6 separate regions of the Homo sapiens genome follow, and all the other regions are linked to region 3. Evidence: promoter capture Hi-C in 16 types of primary human blood cells and fetal thymus (Javierre and others, 2016). All regions are on one chromosome and are shown on one strand. The core of a region is centred on a gene start or on the middle of the fragment in contact, and the rest is flanking DNA. Distances in the headings are between cores, read along the strand shown. Region 1 overlaps RBBP8-AS1 (RBBP8 antisense RNA 1). Region 2 overlaps TTC39C (tetratricopeptide repeat domain 39C). Region 3 holds the start of RMC1 (regulator of MON1-CCZ1). Region 4 overlaps TTC39C (tetratricopeptide repeat domain 39C). Region 5 overlaps TTC39C (tetratricopeptide repeat domain 39C). Region 6 holds the start of LOC124904263 (a long non-coding RNA gene).

Evidence for each region. Contacts are between HindIII fragments. The CHiCAGO score rates a contact against its expected background, and 5 or more counts as called.
Region 1: a fragment that was not itself captured here is called in contact with the fragment with the promoter of RMC1 in region 3 in 1 of 17 cell types (naive B cells); the score reaches 5.3 in naive B cells.
Region 2: a fragment that was not itself captured here is called in contact with the fragment with the promoter of RMC1 in region 3 in 1 of 17 cell types (total CD4 T cells); the score reaches 5.4 in total CD4 T cells.
Region 4: a contact is called between a fragment that was not itself captured here and the fragment with the promoter of RMC1 in region 3, in 4 of 17 cell types (naive CD4 T cells, total CD4 T cells, naive CD8 T cells and 1 more). The highest score is 6.6, in naive CD4 T cells.
Region 5: a contact is called between a fragment that was not itself captured here and the fragment with the promoter of RMC1 in region 3, in 1 of 17 cell types (total CD8 T cells). The highest score is 6.1, in total CD8 T cells.
Region 6: a contact is called between a fragment that was not itself captured here and the fragment with the promoter of RMC1 in region 3, in 2 of 17 cell types (naive B cells and total B cells). The highest score is 7.5, in naive B cells.

Annotation. Positions count from the first base shown.
Region 1 is chr18:22,927,361-22,930,302 of GRCh38, forward strand. The region is part of intron 1 of RBBP8-AS1 (RBBP8 antisense RNA 1); the gene reads right to left. It also overlaps a transcript of RBBP8 not described here. Among named protein-coding and RNA genes, the nearest start is that of RBBP8, 4.5 kb to the right of the region's middle. RefSeq lists an enhancer at 2,314-2,363. The HindIII fragment of the contact is 3,813 bases long and covers 1-2,942 here.
Region 2 is chr18:24,132,272-24,135,109 of GRCh38, forward strand. It overlaps TTC39C (tetratricopeptide repeat domain 39C), which reads left to right. Exons shown (of 14, transcript NM_001135993.2): 14 at 214-2,838. The coding sequence ends at 303. Among named protein-coding and RNA genes, the nearest start is that of CABYR, 5.4 kb to the right of the region's middle. The HindIII fragment of the contact is 2,237 bases long and covers 169-2,405 here.
Region 3 is chr18:23,501,922-23,504,796 of GRCh38, forward strand. It overlaps RMC1 (regulator of MON1-CCZ1), which reads left to right and starts at 1,590. Exons shown (of 20, transcript NM_013326.5): 1 at 1,590-1,799; 2 at 2,450-2,526. The coding sequence starts at 1,698. RefSeq lists a silencer at 1,302-1,951 and an enhancer at 2,202-2,301. The HindIII fragment of the contact is 15,374 bases long and covers 1-2,875 here.
Region 4 is chr18:24,097,525-24,100,379 of GRCh38, forward strand. The region is part of intron 6 of TTC39C (tetratricopeptide repeat domain 39C); the gene reads left to right. Among named protein-coding and RNA genes, the nearest start is that of CABYR, 40 kb to the right of the region's middle. The HindIII fragment of the contact is 2,188 bases long and covers 260-2,447 here.
Region 5 is chr18:24,080,931-24,083,919 of GRCh38, forward strand. It overlaps TTC39C (tetratricopeptide repeat domain 39C), which reads left to right. Exons shown (of 14, transcript NM_001135993.2): 5 at 1-9; 6 at 1,983-2,151. Among named protein-coding and RNA genes, the nearest start is that of CABYR, 57 kb to the right of the region's middle. The HindIII fragment of the contact is 283 bases long and covers 1,592-1,874 here.
Region 6 is chr18:22,797,882-22,800,721 of GRCh38, forward strand. All of the region lies in intron 2 of RBBP8-AS1 (RBBP8 antisense RNA 1), which reads right to left. It overlaps LOC124904263 (a long non-coding RNA gene), which reads left to right and starts at 349. Exons shown (of 2, transcript XR_007066308.1): 1 at 349-606. The HindIII fragment of the contact is 1,500 bases long and covers 550-2,049 here.

The DNA of each region.
Region 1 (2,942 bases), core at 27-2,526, 570 kb before region 3:
GAAATGCCCAGCACAAATAGCAGAAATAAACGAAGAATTGGATACCCACGTCCCAGTTCCATCCTGCTTCTTTAAGTAAATCACACAACCTCATTTGTTCACTCATTGATTATATTATATATGCTGGGCCTGCGCTGTACGATACAGTAGCCACTAGTCACATGCAGACTTGAGAACTTATAATGTGGCTAGTCTAAACTGAGATGTGCTGTAAAGGTAAAATATATAACAGATTTCAGAGACTTAGTATGAAGAAAAAGAATGTAAAAAGTCTCATTAATTTTTATATTGATTACATGTTTAAATAATATTTTAGATAAACTGGGTTAAATAAAATATATTAAGTTAATTTCACCTGATTTTTACTTAAAATGTAATTTTTAGAAAATTTAATATTATATATGTGGCTCTGTGGGATAGTTCTGTGCTAAGACTCTAGTAAAAAGTAGGAAAGAACCCAGGAGGCAGAGGTTGCAGTGAGTCGAGATTGTGCCACTGCACTCCAGCCTGGGCAACAGAGTGAGACTCTGTCTCAAAAAATTAAAAAAAAAAAAGCAGGAAAACAGGGCTGGGCGTGGTGGCTCATGCCTGTAATCCCAGCACTTTGGGAGGCCGAGGAGGGTGGATCACCTGAGGTCAGGAGTTTGAGACTAGCCTGGCCAACATGGCAAAACTCCGTCTCTACTAAAGACACAATAATTAGCTAGGCAGGTGCCTGTAATCCCAGCTACTCGGGAGACTGAGGCATGAGGATTGCTTGAATCTGGAGGGTGAAGGCTATCATAAGCTGAGATCGCGCCACTGCACTCCAGCCTGGGGGACAGAGTAAGACTTTGTCTCCAAAAAAAAAAAAAAGTAGGAAAACAGAAGAATAAAGAAAGCACAGTCTGACATCAAGGAGCCCAGCTGAAGATTAAAAACACAAAAATAATTACAATATAATGGTGTTAAGTGCAATGATAAAGATATATATTGAGGGCATGGGAGAATGAGGAAGGCCATTTGTGAAAGGGTATAGAAAGGAAGGATGAAGAGAGATGTTAGGTTAGTCGCCTGAAAGAGGTAGTGCCTGAGCTGAGACTTAAAAGAATAAGAAAGATGAAGTGTAACAAATGGGGGTGAAAGTAATTCCAAGAGAAAAACATTGTATGAGCCAAGAGTAAGACACAGCCAAGGGAAGGAGAGAGGAATAAAAGCAGTTTCCTGTTGAAAGAGGGAAAGAGCAAGGGGTACAGCAGAGACTGTGCAAGGATAAGAGCTTGTGTGACATTTTAAAGAAACTGATTTTTAACCTTTAGGCAATAGCCTTTTTTTCTTTTTTTTTTTTGAGACACAGTCTCGCTTTGTCGCCCATGCTGGAGTGCAGGGGTGTGATCTTGGCTCACCACAACCTCCGCCTCCTGGGTTCAAGTGATTCACCTCCCTCAGCCTCCCGAGTAGCTGGGATTACAGGTGCCTGCCACCATGCCCATCTAATTTTTGTATTTTTAGTAGAAACAGGGTTTCACCATGTTGGCCAAGCTGGTCTCAAACTCCTGACCTCAAGTGATCCAACCACCTCGGCCTCCCAAAGTGCAGGGATTATAGGCGTAAGCTACCGCACCAGTCTGGCAACAGTCTTTTGAAGAGTTTTAAGCAAAGGAATGCCAGGATCAGAAATAATGGTTTAGATGTTGGGCAGCTGTGAGACTGAATTAAGGTGAACAAGACTGGAAGCAGGGAGGCTGTTGCCTAGGTAAGAAACATCAGGGCCTCAACTAGGGCAATAAGTGAGGTTGGAAAGGAAAGCACTAATTCAAAATTATATTTAAGAGGTATCATCAGCAGAATATAGTGCCTGACTCGTCCTGACACCATGGAAAGGAGTTTGGATTTTATTCTAGGGTGATGGGAAGACCCTGAAATGCTTTAAGCAGGGAGTGTGATTTTCTGATAGATTTTAAAGAACCTCTCAGACTGCTGTTGGAGAATATACTGTAATGGAGAACAGAGTGGATAACAGATTTTTTTTTTTTTTTAAAGGAGGATATTGCCGTAGAAGAGGTTGATGGTAGCTTGAACCAGGGTGGACACAAAGGTGAGAAGCAACTGGATTGTTTGGGCAGGTGTGTGTGTGTGTGTGTGTGTGTGTGTGTGTGTGTGTGTGTGTGAAGAGACAGGCGGGTGTGTGTGTGTGTGTGTGTGTGTGTGTATGTGTGTGTGTTTAAGAGACAGGTTCTGGCTGTCATTCAGCCTATACTGCAGTTTCTCAAATCTCAAGTGAGCCTCCCGCGGGCCTCCCACAGCGTTGAGGTTACAGATATGAGCCACCCTATCTGGCCTCAGGTTGTATTTTTAACTGCAAATGGTTTTGCCTAATTCGTAGGGTTGAGAAAGAAAAAAGCAAGTTTAGGAAGATCACACTTGTGGAGCTCAATTGTCTTGTTTAATCAGGAGGCCAGGTTGTCCACCTAGAGTGAAAATAGCTTCAGAGGCTTGAGGACTGAAAATAGTAAAGGTCTGGAAGACAGCAGAGAAAATAAAAAGAGCTGAACAAAGGCTATTTTAAGGATTAACTGATGCCCTGCATGAAGTTTGAAACCATATGACTTTAGTGATATCAGTCTAACGTGATACGTCATTTTCCCTTCACAACACTCAACTACCCAGCTGCAGGAGTTAAGCATAGATTCTAGAATCTACAGGATTTCATTTGTAAATGGCTTGAGTTAGATGACTTTTAAATCTACGTGAGTTCCAAAACTTTACTTTTAAGAATCCTAGAGTCTGTACTGCTATCACACAATTTATTTTAAATTGGTGCCTAGATATACATAATGTAAACTTACCATTTTAACTATTTCACTAGTTTATTTAAATTCAGCATTCTAGCCAGGGGCCTCCAATAGGTGTGCTGGGACATTAAAAACCTAGCCCTGAAGGTGGCAGCACTGGGCCTGAGG
Region 2 (2,838 bases), core at 37-2,536, 630 kb after region 3:
CAAAGAGAACCTTATTGACATTCAGTTGACGTTTTTAAAAATGAATACAAAGTTTGAGGTTTGAGTAATATGAAAATCAAGTGGATGGGAAACCTTTACTGGGAGTGTAGAGATTTTACTTTGGGAAATGCAAAATTGAGTGTGCTTTATACCACAGTACCCTGTGCAAGCTTAGCTAACAGAGTGCATAAATATCTTTCTTTGATCTTACAGGAGGATTTCTCTGGCTACGACTTTGAAAACAGATTGCATGTCCGCATCCATGCTGCTCTGGCCTCTCTGAGGGAATTGGTTCCTCAGTGACAGACCCGGAACACCCGCTCCGTCCCTCCCCACCCAGGGTCCGCACTTTAAAATAAAAGCAGAGGACAAAGCTCTTGTGAAGATGGGCTTTTCTTCTGAAAACCACCTGTGCCAGGGACACATTTTCCCAGTTAAGCTGACATATTAAAGATCTCCTCTTTTAAACATGTAGCTGAAAAGTAATAATGATGTTGAGGAGGATGATGATGGTAATAATAACTAACCACCTGGGGAGAGGGTTAAGTGACCTTGCTCAAACGTTTTAGTTTTGTGATTTATTATTTTTAAAATAAAATCAAACGGAACATCCAACCCAAGATCCTGTAGGAACACCTACCTTAAGCACATATCTGAATGGGTAACATGATGAGGTACCTGTAAAATTATTAACAATATCATGACATAGCATTTATATTTGTGTTTTGAAAAAATAAAAGTGCTTTCTAGTGTTTTACTTTATCCTCAAAATACTCCAGTGAATAACATAGCACAGATATTCTTAACCCCACTTTGCAGACAGTGAAACTCAGGCACAAAAAGGCAAATTGACTTATCCCAATTAATTATTCCTGTTATCAGCAGAGCAATGAATAGAAAGCAGATCTCCTGACCACCAACTGACTTTTATTGTAAAAATAATTCATGTTAATAGGCCAGAATTCCATGTTTTACTTATTAAAAGAACAAAATCTTCAGCTGAAGTTATGTCACCAGAAATAGTCATCTCCAGATTGTCTACAGAATGTTTCAAAGCGATGGACACTCTTTTTCCTTTGAAAGCCAACCAAGTAAGAGCAAATATTAATAGAAGATAATTTTACAACTAAAAGTGTGACTCTTTTGCTAATCTATTAGCCTAGTCTATAGATTAGACAAACAGTATCTACATTTTAGGAGTTTACCTTTCTTTGTGAAAATTGTCAAATTACCAACTTTTGGAAATCTTTTGACACATTACTTGAAAAGGTTATTCGTGAATGAACATAGATTTTGGCCTCAAAATATTTGCTGGTGGAACATTTGCTGGGCTACACAGTGCCAGGATTTAATCATTTTCCCCTTAGCTCAGGTTATTTAGATATTATACAAGGAATTCAAAGTTATTTTTTTATTCTTCATTGCTAATTTTTGTCATTTAATTTACCTCCATGCCCGGTACTGCAAACCTGTGGTTTTGAAGAATCTAAATACCTCAGTCACTTTTAAGAATCTCTGCCATAATTTGGCTCAATGTTTAAGGTTAGATTTTTAAAGAAATTTTTATTGAGCTAAAGGATATCATTTTAGGGTATCGTTTATTTACAAATTCTTTTGGCTGAAACATGATCTCATATTAATATTTTAATATTTCTTTTCAAAATAAAACAGAAAAGCAAGTAGAATGTTGGCAAATTTTATCTGATTTGACCTTGTTTTGAGGGAATAGTCATAATTTCTTTGAAAGAAGTTATTTCTCACTGATTTTGGCTAAACAGTATTCATATTTCTTCATCTCTGTTACTGACCACTTTTCAGTAGACTGTTTCCAAAATGTGTATTCACATTGACTTTCTCCCTGATGTGAATTCCGTGTGGGTTTTAGATAATAGTAAGAGAGAAGAGATTGCTCTCCTATATTCAGTGAATGAGAAGGGAACTTTTTTCTGAAGAGCAAAATTGGTGCCCAAAAATATTGGACATCTGTTTTTTGTTTTTTTTTTTTTTTTTTTTTTTTTTTGAGACGGAGTCTCGCTCTGTCACCCAGGCTGGAGTGCAGTGGCGTGATCTTGGCTCACTGCAACCTCTGCCTCCTGGGTTCACACCATTCTCCTGCCTCAGCCTCCCAAGTAGCTGGGACTACAGGCACCCGCAACCACACCCGGCTAATTTTTTTTGTATTTTTAGTAGAGATGGGGTTTCACCATGTTAGCCAGGATTGTCTCCATCTCCTGACCTCGTGATCCACCCGCCTTGGCCTCCCAAAGAGCTGGGATTACTGGTGTGAGCCACCGTGCCCGGCCTGGACATCTGGTTTTAACTAGATGGAAGGGAAGAACATTATGAATCTTTAAAATACGGCTGTTGCCATTTTTCTCTCTTCTTAACATGCAGCATAGGTGACAAGCTTTTCTGTCATCATCATGGAGCATTCTGAATCATGACATTTTTGTTTGAGAGTTCATTCTTGAATTTTCAGTTCAAAATATTGTTTGAACTATTATTCCACATTCAAAGATTATATAAGGTCCTGTGCTTTTGAATCTTTTTCAAAACATTTATTTCTGCCTGCTTAAAAAAAATACTTTTATTTCCCCACAGAGAGTTCAGGACTTCAGATTAGTTTGTGTTCAGCTCACTTAACTGGATAGACAATTTTGCGTTTTGCAACACCATCCTGTAGGTTTTCTTTACTAGTCAAAGTGTAGGTCTTTTTAAAATTTTTAATCTTTATTTTTATTTTTATTTTGAAACAGAGTCTCACTCTGTTGCCCAGGCTGGAGTGCAGTGGTGTGATCTGTGCTCACTGCAACCTCTGTCACCCGGGTTTAAGCGATT
Region 3 (2,875 bases), core at 340-2,839:
CCTGAGGTTAGGAGTTGGAGACCAGCCTGGCCAACATGGTGAAACCCGGTCTCTGCTAAAAATACACACAAAAAAATTAGCTGGGCATGGTGGCAGGTGCCTGTAATCCCAGCTACTTGGGAGGCTGATGCGGGAGAATCGCTTGAACCCGGGAGGTGGAGGTTGCAGTGAACCGAGACAGGGCCATTGCACTCCAGCCTGGGCAACAAGAACGAAATTCCGTCTCAAAATAAAATAAAATAAACAATAAAAATAAAGGGTTAACATGGGGGCTGAGCACGGTCAGCGAGAGAATCACTTGAGGCCAGGAGTCTGAGACCAGCCTGGGCAACAGAGAACGCTGTCTCTACAAAGCATAATAATAAAAAAATGAGCCAGGTGTGGTGGCATGCACCCGTGGTCCCAGCTACTTGTGAGGCTGAGATGGGAGGTTGAGACTGCAGTGAGCCGTGTTCGCATCACTGCTCTCCAGCCTGGGCACAGAGACACTCTGTCTCTGAAACAAACAAAAAAAGAGGGGCTAACATGGTAAATTTCATGTTTCTTATCAAGTAAAAAGGCTTGCTGACCCACAATCTATATTAGGTTTCCCTGTTACTAGCAAGGAGTGAAGGATGTGCTATCCCAAAATATGTCCAAAAATTGGTATATTATTTTGAGCTAAAAACACCGGAGAAATTGTAGTTTCAGAAAGGGCTAGATGACCTGTCGTTTCCTACAGGGAATAAGCAGTAAAGATTCCTCTGGGAGTGGCACCCTCTCTGTACCCGGGTCAGAAAATAGCCCTTATCACCAGAGACTGGGAGTTGGGGCTGCAATGGACCTGAATAAATGAACTTCCCAAGTAACACTTACCTTCCACTAATTTTACACCCTCCCCAATATTTCTCCTAGTGACTCTCTTAGAAATGTATCGCCCCAGCCAGATGCCTTTTGTGCTTTCTTCTCAAATGCATCATTCTTTGTCTAAAAAGTATAAAAGCATCTTGCTGTGGCCACTTCTTCAGACCTCACTCTCTTTTGAAGGTCCCCATGAAAAACTAATAAAGTGTGTATGCTTTTCTTTTGTTTATCTGCCTCTTGTCAATTCGGTTTCTGGCTCCAGCGGAAGAGCCCGCAGAAGCGCTGAGGGGACTGGAGACGGTCTCTGGCGCCCCTACACCTGCTCAGTGAGCCTTCAGCCCCTTCTCCCTGACGAAGCTCCCAGAGGCTGGAACTCTGGCGCGGGAGGCACTTGGGAAATCCTCCCGAAAGCAAGGAGGAGCCTTTCCTAGACCGGGAGCGGTCCCACGCGGGGGTACAGGTTGGGGCAGGGGCGACCGAGCCGGGCACAGGAACTCGCAGCAGGGTAGGGTTGGCGGCTACGCCGCCCTCGGTCCGCGGGGAACCACGCGGGCTTCCGGGTCACGCCGCCGCGTTCCGACCGCCCTCGGGGAGAGGGGAGGAGCCTCCAGCGCCGGGCGGGGCGTGGTTAAGGCCGGTGGGCCCCACCGCAGCCAGACGCTGCCCGTTTAAGCGCAGAGGGCCGCGGGTCACGTGGTGGGCGGGGTGGGGGCGTGGCACCAGGAAGCGGCGTCCGCGCCGGGCCCAGAGCCGCAGCCGCAGCCGCCGCTACAGTCCGGGCCGGGCTCCACCGCGCATCCTGCTCCACTCTGGCGACCGCCCCCGGGGCCCCCGCCGCGGGCGCGGCGCCCGCCATGGGCGAGGAGGACTACTATCTGGAGCTGTGCGAGCGGCCGGTGCAGTTCGAGAAGGCGAACCCTGTCAACTGCGTCTTCTTCGATGAGGCCAACAAGCAGGTCCGGCGCGCCCGCGCTTCCTCCCCCGCGCGGCCCTGCCGGGGTCGTGGGCGCGCCAAGGCCGGTCCCGCGCGACCAGGCCCGAGCGTCCCCTCCTGTCCTGTCCCGTCCCGTCCCAGCGCGGGAGGCGGCGCGCGCTCCTTCCTTGTTGGGTGGGCTCAGCCGCGGCCAGGTGTCCTCGCAGGTGACCTCGGGGCTGGACCCCCGAGCCAGCTGCGCGGATGCAGTGGCCCCGTGGCCAGTGTCTCAATTGTTGGCGCGCCCGTCTTATCTAGGCTTCTTTTGTTGTGTTTGTCATTAGTTACACTCGTAGTCAAGGGTTTAGACGTCGAGATTTTCATTTTCCTTGAAATTTTGTAAAGGGGGAAAAGACTGTACTTCAGGCGTATCAGCGGCGCCGATGCGCGAACCGGTGTTAGAACTTGGAGCCTCGGGAACCCGACCCGGTGTCACGGTGGCATCCTTTTCGCTCTCTGCTCTTGGTTTTTAAAATTCACCTGAGCAGCCAAACATCTGTACCTTGATATGTGCCGTGTTACTTTAGTTGAACCCAGGGTGGTGTATAACAGAAATAATCGCTTGCGGGTTGGCTTCTGAGTTTAGATCCTTTCAGAGTTCAGGCTGTTAACCTTGCTGCTTTTCCCTCTCAGGTTTTTGCTGTTCGATCTGGTGGAGCTACTGGCGTGGTAGTTAAAGGCCCAGATGATAGGAATCCCATCTCATTTAGGTAATGGTATAGACACTTTCAGATCATTTTGTCATGTAAACAGAATGATGTTTTTCTAATTCAAATGGTTTTTTATAATTTTGTCATTTGGTCTGCCCTAAGAGGCCTGAAGTCTGTGTGCGCACATGGAATTCCTGTCTGTAGGGAGGGTCTTCGTGGCACTTACTAGCACCTCTTGTCAGAGTGGAATATCTGGAGCAGTTGATTTGGGAGCCAAATACTTCAAAAGTGGGGCAGCCACTTCCTAGCACTGGAAATTAACAAGTCAGCGTGATGATGTGCCCATTTCTGGTTTGTTCACAGAGGAGGGCGTTCATTTCTTTAGCCCAGGTCTTTCCAGAGTGGCAGG
Region 4 (2,855 bases), core at 104-2,603, 600 kb after region 3:
TTGGTCAGAATGGTGTAAGCTGAACCAATTGAGATGTCTATGGTGTTGGCTATTATTTATAGTCCTCTTCAATTAGGGCATGAACAAGATTAATATTTTCTTTGCAAATCTGTGTAGATGGTCTGCCACCATGGGCTTCATCTTCAACATCGTCTTGGCCCTTCGTAAACTTATACATTTGCAAACTGCTGATTTCTTTGGGGAATTATTCCTATAAACTTTTTGTAAAGTGTCAGTGATTTCACCATTCTTTCACCCAAGCTTCACCATAGGTTTTATGTTTGTTCTTGCTTCCATTTAAATGCAGAATTTATGTTGCTCTGATAGGGGCTCTTTTCAAGTTGATGTCTTATGCTTCTTAGTGCCTCAAACTAGATCCTGCTCAGACATGTTATAGCAAGTTAGTATGGGCTTATTTTGGTGTAAAAAAATTTGAAATTCATGCATAGTTTTATTATAATGCACATTTTCTATGACCATTTTGAAGACCCTGCCTATGTCTTAAATAAAACAAGAATATCATGATTGCCTTTTAAATATATATTATATTATTTTTTATCCACTTGTTCTCTCACATATATACATAACTATCAGTTTCTCAGGTTCTCTGTTAATGGGAAATTTAAATTGATACTATGTTTATAATATTTCTTATCAGTCACTGAGGATATGTCTTCATTTAGTCATGTCACCTTTTATTTCTCCCATTTTGACTATAAAATTTTTGCATATGTCTGTCCTGTCGTATATAGCAAGCAGGGGTCCAGATGAGATAAGTACTTTGTGAAAGTGTACATAGTTATTTTAGGATTAAGGAAGACCTAGAATTCAGGCTTTCTTTCTTTCCTTTCTTTTCCTTCCCTCCCTCCCTCCCTCCCTCCCTCCCTCCCTCCTTCCTTCCTTCCTCCTTTCCTTTCTTTCCTTTCTCCTTTCCTTTCCTTTCTTTTCTCCTCTCCCTTCCCTCTCCTCTCCTATCCTCTCCTCTCCCCTCCCCTCCCGTCCCCTCCCCTCCCCTCCCCTCCCCTCTCCTCTCCTCTCCTCTCCCTTTCTTGCTTTCTTTTCCTCTCTCCCTCCCTTTCTTTCTTCTTTTCTCTTCTCTTCTGTTTGTCTCTTTTTCATCTCTTTTTAGATGGAGTCTCGCTCTATCACCCAGGCTGGAGTGCAGTGGTGCGTTCTTGGTTCATTGCAACCTCTGCCTCCCGGTTCAAGCAATTCTCCTGCCTCAGCCTCCTGAGTAGCTGGGAGTACAGGTGCCCAACACCACACCTGGCTAATTTTTGTATTCTTAGTAGAGACGGGGTTTTGCCATGTTGGCCAGGCTGGTATCGAACTCCTGACCTCAAGTGATCCTCCTGCCTTGGCCTCCCAAAGTGCTGGGATTACAGGCATGAGTCACTGCGCCCAGCCCAGGCTTTCTTTTTTTAATCGAGTGTTTTTTCTAGTATATCCCACTGCTTTTATTTGCTAATAAGTTAGAGGAATGTGTGTGTGTGTGTGTGTGTGTGTGTGTGTATATATATATCTATACACGTATATACATATAACATATATACATATATATAACATATATACATATATATATATAAAACGTGTGTGTGTGTGTGTGTGTGTGTGTGTGTATGTGTGTGTCTTAGTTTGGGCTGCTATAAAAGAATACTATAGATTGGGTGACTAAAACAACACACTTTTATTTCTCACAGTTCTGGAGGCATGAGATCCAGGTGCCAGAAGATTGGGTGTCTAGTGAGGACCATGTCCTGGTTCATAGATGATGGCTTCTCACTGTGTCCTCAGATGGTGGAAAGGGGGCTAGAGAGCACTCAGGGGTCTCTTTTATGAGGGCACAAATTGCATTCATGAGGGCTCCACCCTCATGATCTGATTACCTCACAAAACTCCCACCTCCTAATACAGTTCCAGTGAGGGTTAGGATTTCATGTATCAATTTTGTGAGGCAGGAGCATTCCATAACAATGTTATATATAATATATAACTGATATATGTAACTTAGCAATTAATATATATATGTATGTATTTAAATGTGAATATAAATATTTCTGGGACTTGTGTTTACTAGGCTTTAGGAATAGACCTGATTTGTTTTTAATGATTTGGCTAAAAGCGTATCTTTTTTATATGCTTTCTTATATCTCCATATTTTGGAGAAACAGATCACTTAAAGTAATTAAACTGCCATTAAACATTGGAAGGAGTTCTTATGTAACTTACTGCTGTGAAATTCCCTTTTGAAATCAGTTTTTTAATAACTTCCCTTATTTCTTCTGTAATGTTAATATATATTTACTTATATCCATTTTAGTTTTATATTATAGTTTTCCATTTCTAGTTATTACTTTCCAAACATATAACTTAATACTAGTTTCAGATCTGTAAAAATGTGATATTATTTTATTAGACTAATTTGTGTTTTCTTAATTTTATGATTAAGCTTTTGGATTATCATATTGGTTTTGAGAGAGAGAGATTGATTTTTTTAATCAACTCATTTTAAAATTTCCATCGTTTCTAGTTTCCCTTAACTTAGCTTGTTTTACAGTTTTTCTTAATAGTTTATCATAACACATTTGTTGTATTAGAATAGTTGGATATTTGTGTTCTGGGATTAGGGATTTGATCACATTCAGGGTGTTTAGGGAGCCTGAAGGTTTTATTAAATGTTCATTGTGATGTGTCTTAATTATCTGATTATGATTATGATTCATCTTACATCCTTTAATAACCTGTGTGGAAGGCCTACTCTGAGTCTGTGGCCCTTGTCCTCCGCCTGGCAGAAGCTCAGGGTTTAGGGCTCACCCCTGGAGGCCACTGTTGGGATGAATCCTGGCCCCTCCACT
Region 5 (2,989 bases), core at 483-2,982, 580 kb after region 3:
TTTAGCTACGTGAGTAGCTGTATTGCAATGCTTTGGTAGATAATATAGTGTTGAAAGTAAGTAAACGACAATCAAAGACTTTAAAGGAAACTTCAGGTAAAATGTTTGGTTGGTTGACAGGGTGCTGTGTCTTATGTCTTTCAATGCAACACCAAGGACTGTGTTCTGTGGTCGTGGTGGTGGTTCTAAGCTGACTTTAGTTAGAGAACAAGGCGTTGTTCACTAGTCTCACAAGTCATGTATTTTAAAACCTCAAATGATTTTATAAGCAGTTTTTGTGACTTTGACCACATTCTCTGAGATTCACGATTCTGATTTTTGGACTTAGGAGGTACAAATTTGCTAAGCTTTTTCTGTGTTTCTGAAATTTTTATTCTTATAAAGAATTCTCACATTGGGTAATTTTCCTTGATGATTCAAGGTGGTTTCCTATATGTGACATGGATATTTTGTGCTCTTTCGCTAAACTGAGTCATGTTATGTTCCTTGGTTTAAACTTAAATAATAATTATTTAAGCAGGAGAGCATGAGGAAGCTGATATAACTATCTAGAACAAGAATTCACCAATTTCTACATCAGTTAAAAGTGATGTGTTTTTTGTTTGTTTGTTTTAGTCTGGCAAATATCTACCATTTGTAACTTGAGTAATTTAACACGATTCCGGATATTCTTTGTCTAACATTACAGCACTTGTCAAAATTTTCCCCAAAAATGTTGATATCATAGAGGACCTTACCTCTATTTCTACTTGTATCAGTATTGAGAAATTTGGATGTTAACTCTTAATCAACTGATAGCTATTTAAAATACCATTAATTTTTCATTTAAAAAAATTATGCCTCCCTAAACTCATTGAAGTACACAGTTGTCCTTTATTAATGTGAATTAATAGGTTTGTTAACTTGTGATCATTTGTCTGTTTATATCTTAATATTTTATGCTTATCTCTGATAAAGAAATGAATAGAATTAATAGTGTCATTAGTATGAGCTCCATAAGAGAACCAAATTTATAAGCACACCAGAAGTATGCATTTACATAAAAATATTTGACATGTTGGTTAAACATTTTTGTCTGGCTGTTGTTTTTTTTTTTTTTTTTTTTGAGACAGAGTCTTGCTCTGTAGCCCAGGGTGGAGTGCAGTGGCGCGATCTCGGCTCACTGCAACCTCTGCCTCCCGGGTCCCGGTTCAAGCAATTCTGCCTCAGTCTCCCAAGTAGCTAGGATTACAAATCCCAGTGACTCTGTTTTGTTTACCTAGTTTAACATGGCCATTTTTTTTTTTAAATAATGAGTTTGGAGCAAGGGAGTCTGAAGTAATTTATTTATTTGCTTGTTTTTTAAATTGAACATCTTCAAAGGCCAGAGAAAGAGCCCTTTGTCTTATCCCCTCACTTATTTTAACCCAACTTAGTATAATTTGTGTCTGTGGTTTCCATATTTAAATTTATTCTTTTTTATAAATTTTCTTTTTCCTTTTGACCTATTTATTTGTGCATGATATTTAAACTTAGATTCTAGGTTTATACCCTAAGTTTTGTGAACGCAAGAGAAAACAACATTTTCCTTTTGCCAAAAATAAATAAATAAAGCTTTTATTACAAGGGAACGGTAAACTCATGGTGACTAGTTACCATTTCTAATTGGTGCATTAATGAGTAAAGTGTAGAATTCAGAGATTTATGTCAGCCATCTCTTCAGCGATCCATCTAGAAGGCTCAGAAAAGCTAAATGCTCCTGTTACTTTATTCTCTTCTCCCCTGAGGGAAGGGTGTCTTCTGATTTATATATTGTGCTAAAGTTGCAGTTTTCCAAATATTAACATTAAAATGGGGAAAGTCTCTGATTTTACTTCTTCAGAGACTGCATAGTAAGCTTTTTGGATAGAGTAGTATTGGAAGAACACATACTGGAGTTTTGAAAAATGGAAATGGTGTAAGGAAAGTTAATGTGCTCAATGTTTCTCTCCCTCTTCCTCTAGATTAGCTCTGCTCTGGTATCATACTGTAGTCCGCCCGTTTTTTGCCTTGGATGGCAGTGATAACAAGGCAGGCCTGGATGAAGCTAAGGAAATTCTCCTTAAAAAAGAAGCTGCTTATCCAAATTCTTCCCTCTTTATGTTTTTCAAGGGACGGATACAACGACTAGAGGTACTGTACCTTCCTCATCTTTTTAAAATAAAGCCTCCGATGATCAAATCTCTGATTCTCACTTGAGGACTGGTATTAAAACGAGCCAGAATGTCCCAGGGCCCCGGAGCATTTTGTTCTTTTGCCTTTCCTTGTGTCTTTGCTAGGGAAGACTCTTCCAGGAACCCAGGATGTTAGTCAGTTACCTTCTGTTCGGAAGATGTGGGCGAAGTAGGGGTAAGATTCCTCATTGCTAATGACACAAGATTGGTGCACTTCCAGCCTAAGGCACGTGAGCATTATTTAGTTGCTGAGTTGAAAAATACAAAATACAATTTTTTTCCCTCTCTGAATTACTAATAATCTCTTTCTAAACTTTGATCTTGGCTAACAATTGACTTATACAAAAGTTACTGCCTTAAATATCAGGGCAACATGAGCTTTGAAATACTAGGAGCTTTTATCACATTTTCATGTGCTTAATTTGGCTCAGTACTGCGTTAAGAACTTTATACACGCTTTTCCATTTCATCCTCAGAACAACCCTGTGACATAGGTGTAAAATTGTCATCTGCATGTTATAGAAAAAATAAACAGGGATCTAAGAGGGCTTCAAGCAACTTCCTGTGCTTGCCCAGTGAGTGAGCCTGGGTTGTCTCACTCCAGAACCAGAAATGCGCTGGCCTTTGGAGTCTACTTCTCCTTTGCATATCTTTTTATCTGCTTGTTTGAGGTTATGAGGATTTGTAGAAAAATGAAACTATAAGAAATTAATCATACCTATGAAATAAGATAGCTGTTATAGTAGCTGCTCCATCTACATTGTTACCAAGAGTTATCAGGGAATCAGTTTGAGATT
Region 6 (2,840 bases), core at 50-2,549, 700 kb before region 3:
ACTGTCTCCCCTACTCCTTTTTTTTTTTTTTTTTTTTTTTTTTTTTTTTTGAGACGGAGTCTCGCTCTGTCGCCCAGGCTGGAGTGCAGTAGCGCGATCTCGGCTCACTGCAAGCTCCGCCTCCCGGGTTCACGCCATTCTCCTGCCTCAGCCTCCGGAGTAGCTAGGACTACAGGAGCCCGCCCACCATGCCCGGCTAATTTTCGTATTTTTAGTAGAGACAGGGTTTCACCGTGTTAGCCAGGATGGTGTCGATCTCCTGACCTCCTGATCCGCCTGCCCAAAGTGCTGGGATTACAGGTGTGAGCCACCGCCCCTGGCCTTTTTTTTTTTTTTTTTTTTTTTTTGAGACAGAGTCTTGCTCAGTCGCGCAGGTTGAAGTGCAATGGCGAGATCTCGGCTCACTGCAACCTCCGCCCCCCAAGTTCAAACGGTTCCCCTTTTGAAGAGAGCAATTCAGAGGGCCATTAACTATATAAGCACAAGAAAAGTCCAAAGATCCTGGAGCTACCTAGGGAACAGAGCTCCAAAGAAAGCCTCCTGCGTGGAAGCTTCCCTGAGGAAGAGCTGATAACACCTTAAACCTCCTCTGGATTCAAGTTAAAGGTGAGAGGGAAATTTTCCAGTGGAATCCTGCCCAGCAGTTAATTACAAATGGCAAATTTTAAATCATCTCTGCTTTGGTGTTCTGTGTTAGAATGGAAATGGAGATGGACAAACTGTTTACTTCTTTCATTTACTTTGTAGCGCTGGGGTGAGGGGACTCTAGGCTGTTTTGTTTCAAGGAATTGTTTAAACTTTTTATTAAATTTTATTTTAATCAAGACGGAGTCTCGGTCTGTCACACAGGCTGGAGTGCAGTGGCGCTAGCTCGGCTCACTGCAACCTCCGCCTTCTGGGTTCAAGCGATTCTCCTGCCTCCCGGGTTCAAGTGATTCTCCTGCCTCAGCCTCCCGAGTAGCTGGGATTACAGGCGCTCAACACCATGCCCAGCTAATTTTTGTATTTTTAGTAGAGGTAGGGTTTCGCCATTTTGGCCAGGCTGGTCTGGAACTCCTGGCCTCAAATGAGCCTACTGCCTTGGGCTCCCAAAGTGGTGAGATTACAAGCGTGAACCACTGCATCCAGCTCAGATTTTCAAAGTGAGGGTAAATTCTAGGAAATAAAACAGAAGATTATAGAGGTGAATAATTTAAGAATTTTAATTAATGCATAGAAAATAATAGTGCATAGTGCTGGTGTCTTAGAATATGTTTACTATTCTTTGAATATTTATTTCTGAAATTCGTCCCTTCATTTGACAGAGCTGTATGTGGATTACTACAAATGTCCACCAGAGGGAGACTCAAGACTGAGTTTTCCCCTTGGGGTTCCTTCAGGTTTAATTAGTACTTGGGCCAAAATCTCTACCACATGTTGTTATAGGGAGGCAATCCAAGACGGCGAAGAGATTTATGGTTCTGGAATGAGATAAAAGGATAAATAAAGGGATGGTTCTATCCTTAAACATCCCTGCTTTTTCTCTGGGGCTTGGGTCACTTTCTCTTACTGATCCTCTGAGGTTTGCAAAACTGAGTTATTTGTCTGCTTTTGAAAGCAAAGCCCTTAGGATTCCTGGCACTATCCACGCTGAAAAAAACCGTAGGAATACTCCCACCCACTAGCAAAGAAATGTGTCATTCAACTCACAGGAGGCATTTACTAAATTCAGGAGATCCCTCCAGGGATTATAATGTTCTGCCAGAGCCAAAGGCAATCTAGTCCCAAGCCATACCATGGAATTTGGTAGAGGATGGTTTTAGTCTTCCCTGAAGTCTTCATTTGTTAGTTCATTCAACAAAGAGGAAGACTTTATTAAGAGGCAGGTATTGTTTCACTTTTTAAAAGATATCTCTAATTATAGGAAAAATCTAATAATGAAATGAATTTATCATTAACATGCAAAAGCTGTTCTAAAACAGATTTCTGAATAGAACATGTTGTTGGTATAGTTTACATTTGAGATTTTAGGAAACACTTTTATATCACCTATTATGTGCAAAGGGGAAAAGCTTTTTGACAAACAGATATTAACATAGAAGTACAACTATGAGGCACTGCTGTGATTTTCCTTTTCAGAGTTTTGTTTTTTAATAAATCAGACATAGATGGTTGCACAATTACTTTCTATTCATGATCACCTAATTTCCCACATTAAGCCCTGAAACCAAATCTTGAAAATGAAAATAAAATTAGACTGCAACCTGCCACCCACTAGGGAACAAACACCTCTACATGCCTTGGCTACAAATTTAACAATAAAAAAAGACTTTAAATCCCACTTTAATATCTAGGACTTGGGGGTCTGGGGTCAGGTAAAAGCAGGGTAATAGCAAAGGAGTGATTTTTCCCTTACTTCTAGGTTAAGCAGGCTGGTTGTACGGGGAAGCAGTGACTGGTAAAGAGTTAAAGCTCACAGAGTTAACTCACTGGTTAAGAGTTAAAGCTGGTTAAGAGTACCAGCTCACAGATTTGCAGTGAGAAAGAACCCAAGCTCTTAGCATCCTTTTCCTTGGGCTCTAAATCAGTTGTGGGAAACAGTGAAAGGTAACATACAGGACAGGATTTTTTTAGCGAGATCACCTTCAGCCATGGTTTCTGATGCAAAATGTTCTCCCGCCAGCACCCAAGACCATAGATGCTGTGGCGGTGGTGGCAGCAAACACTGGGCATGCTTGGACGGGCAGCCACAGGGTTGCCACGGTCTCGGCAGGGTCTAGTAGACAGAGGTCTTGTGATATCTGCTGGGAGTCATGGGAACAAGTGGGAATTTATCTTTGGTTCCAGAGAACATAAAATGA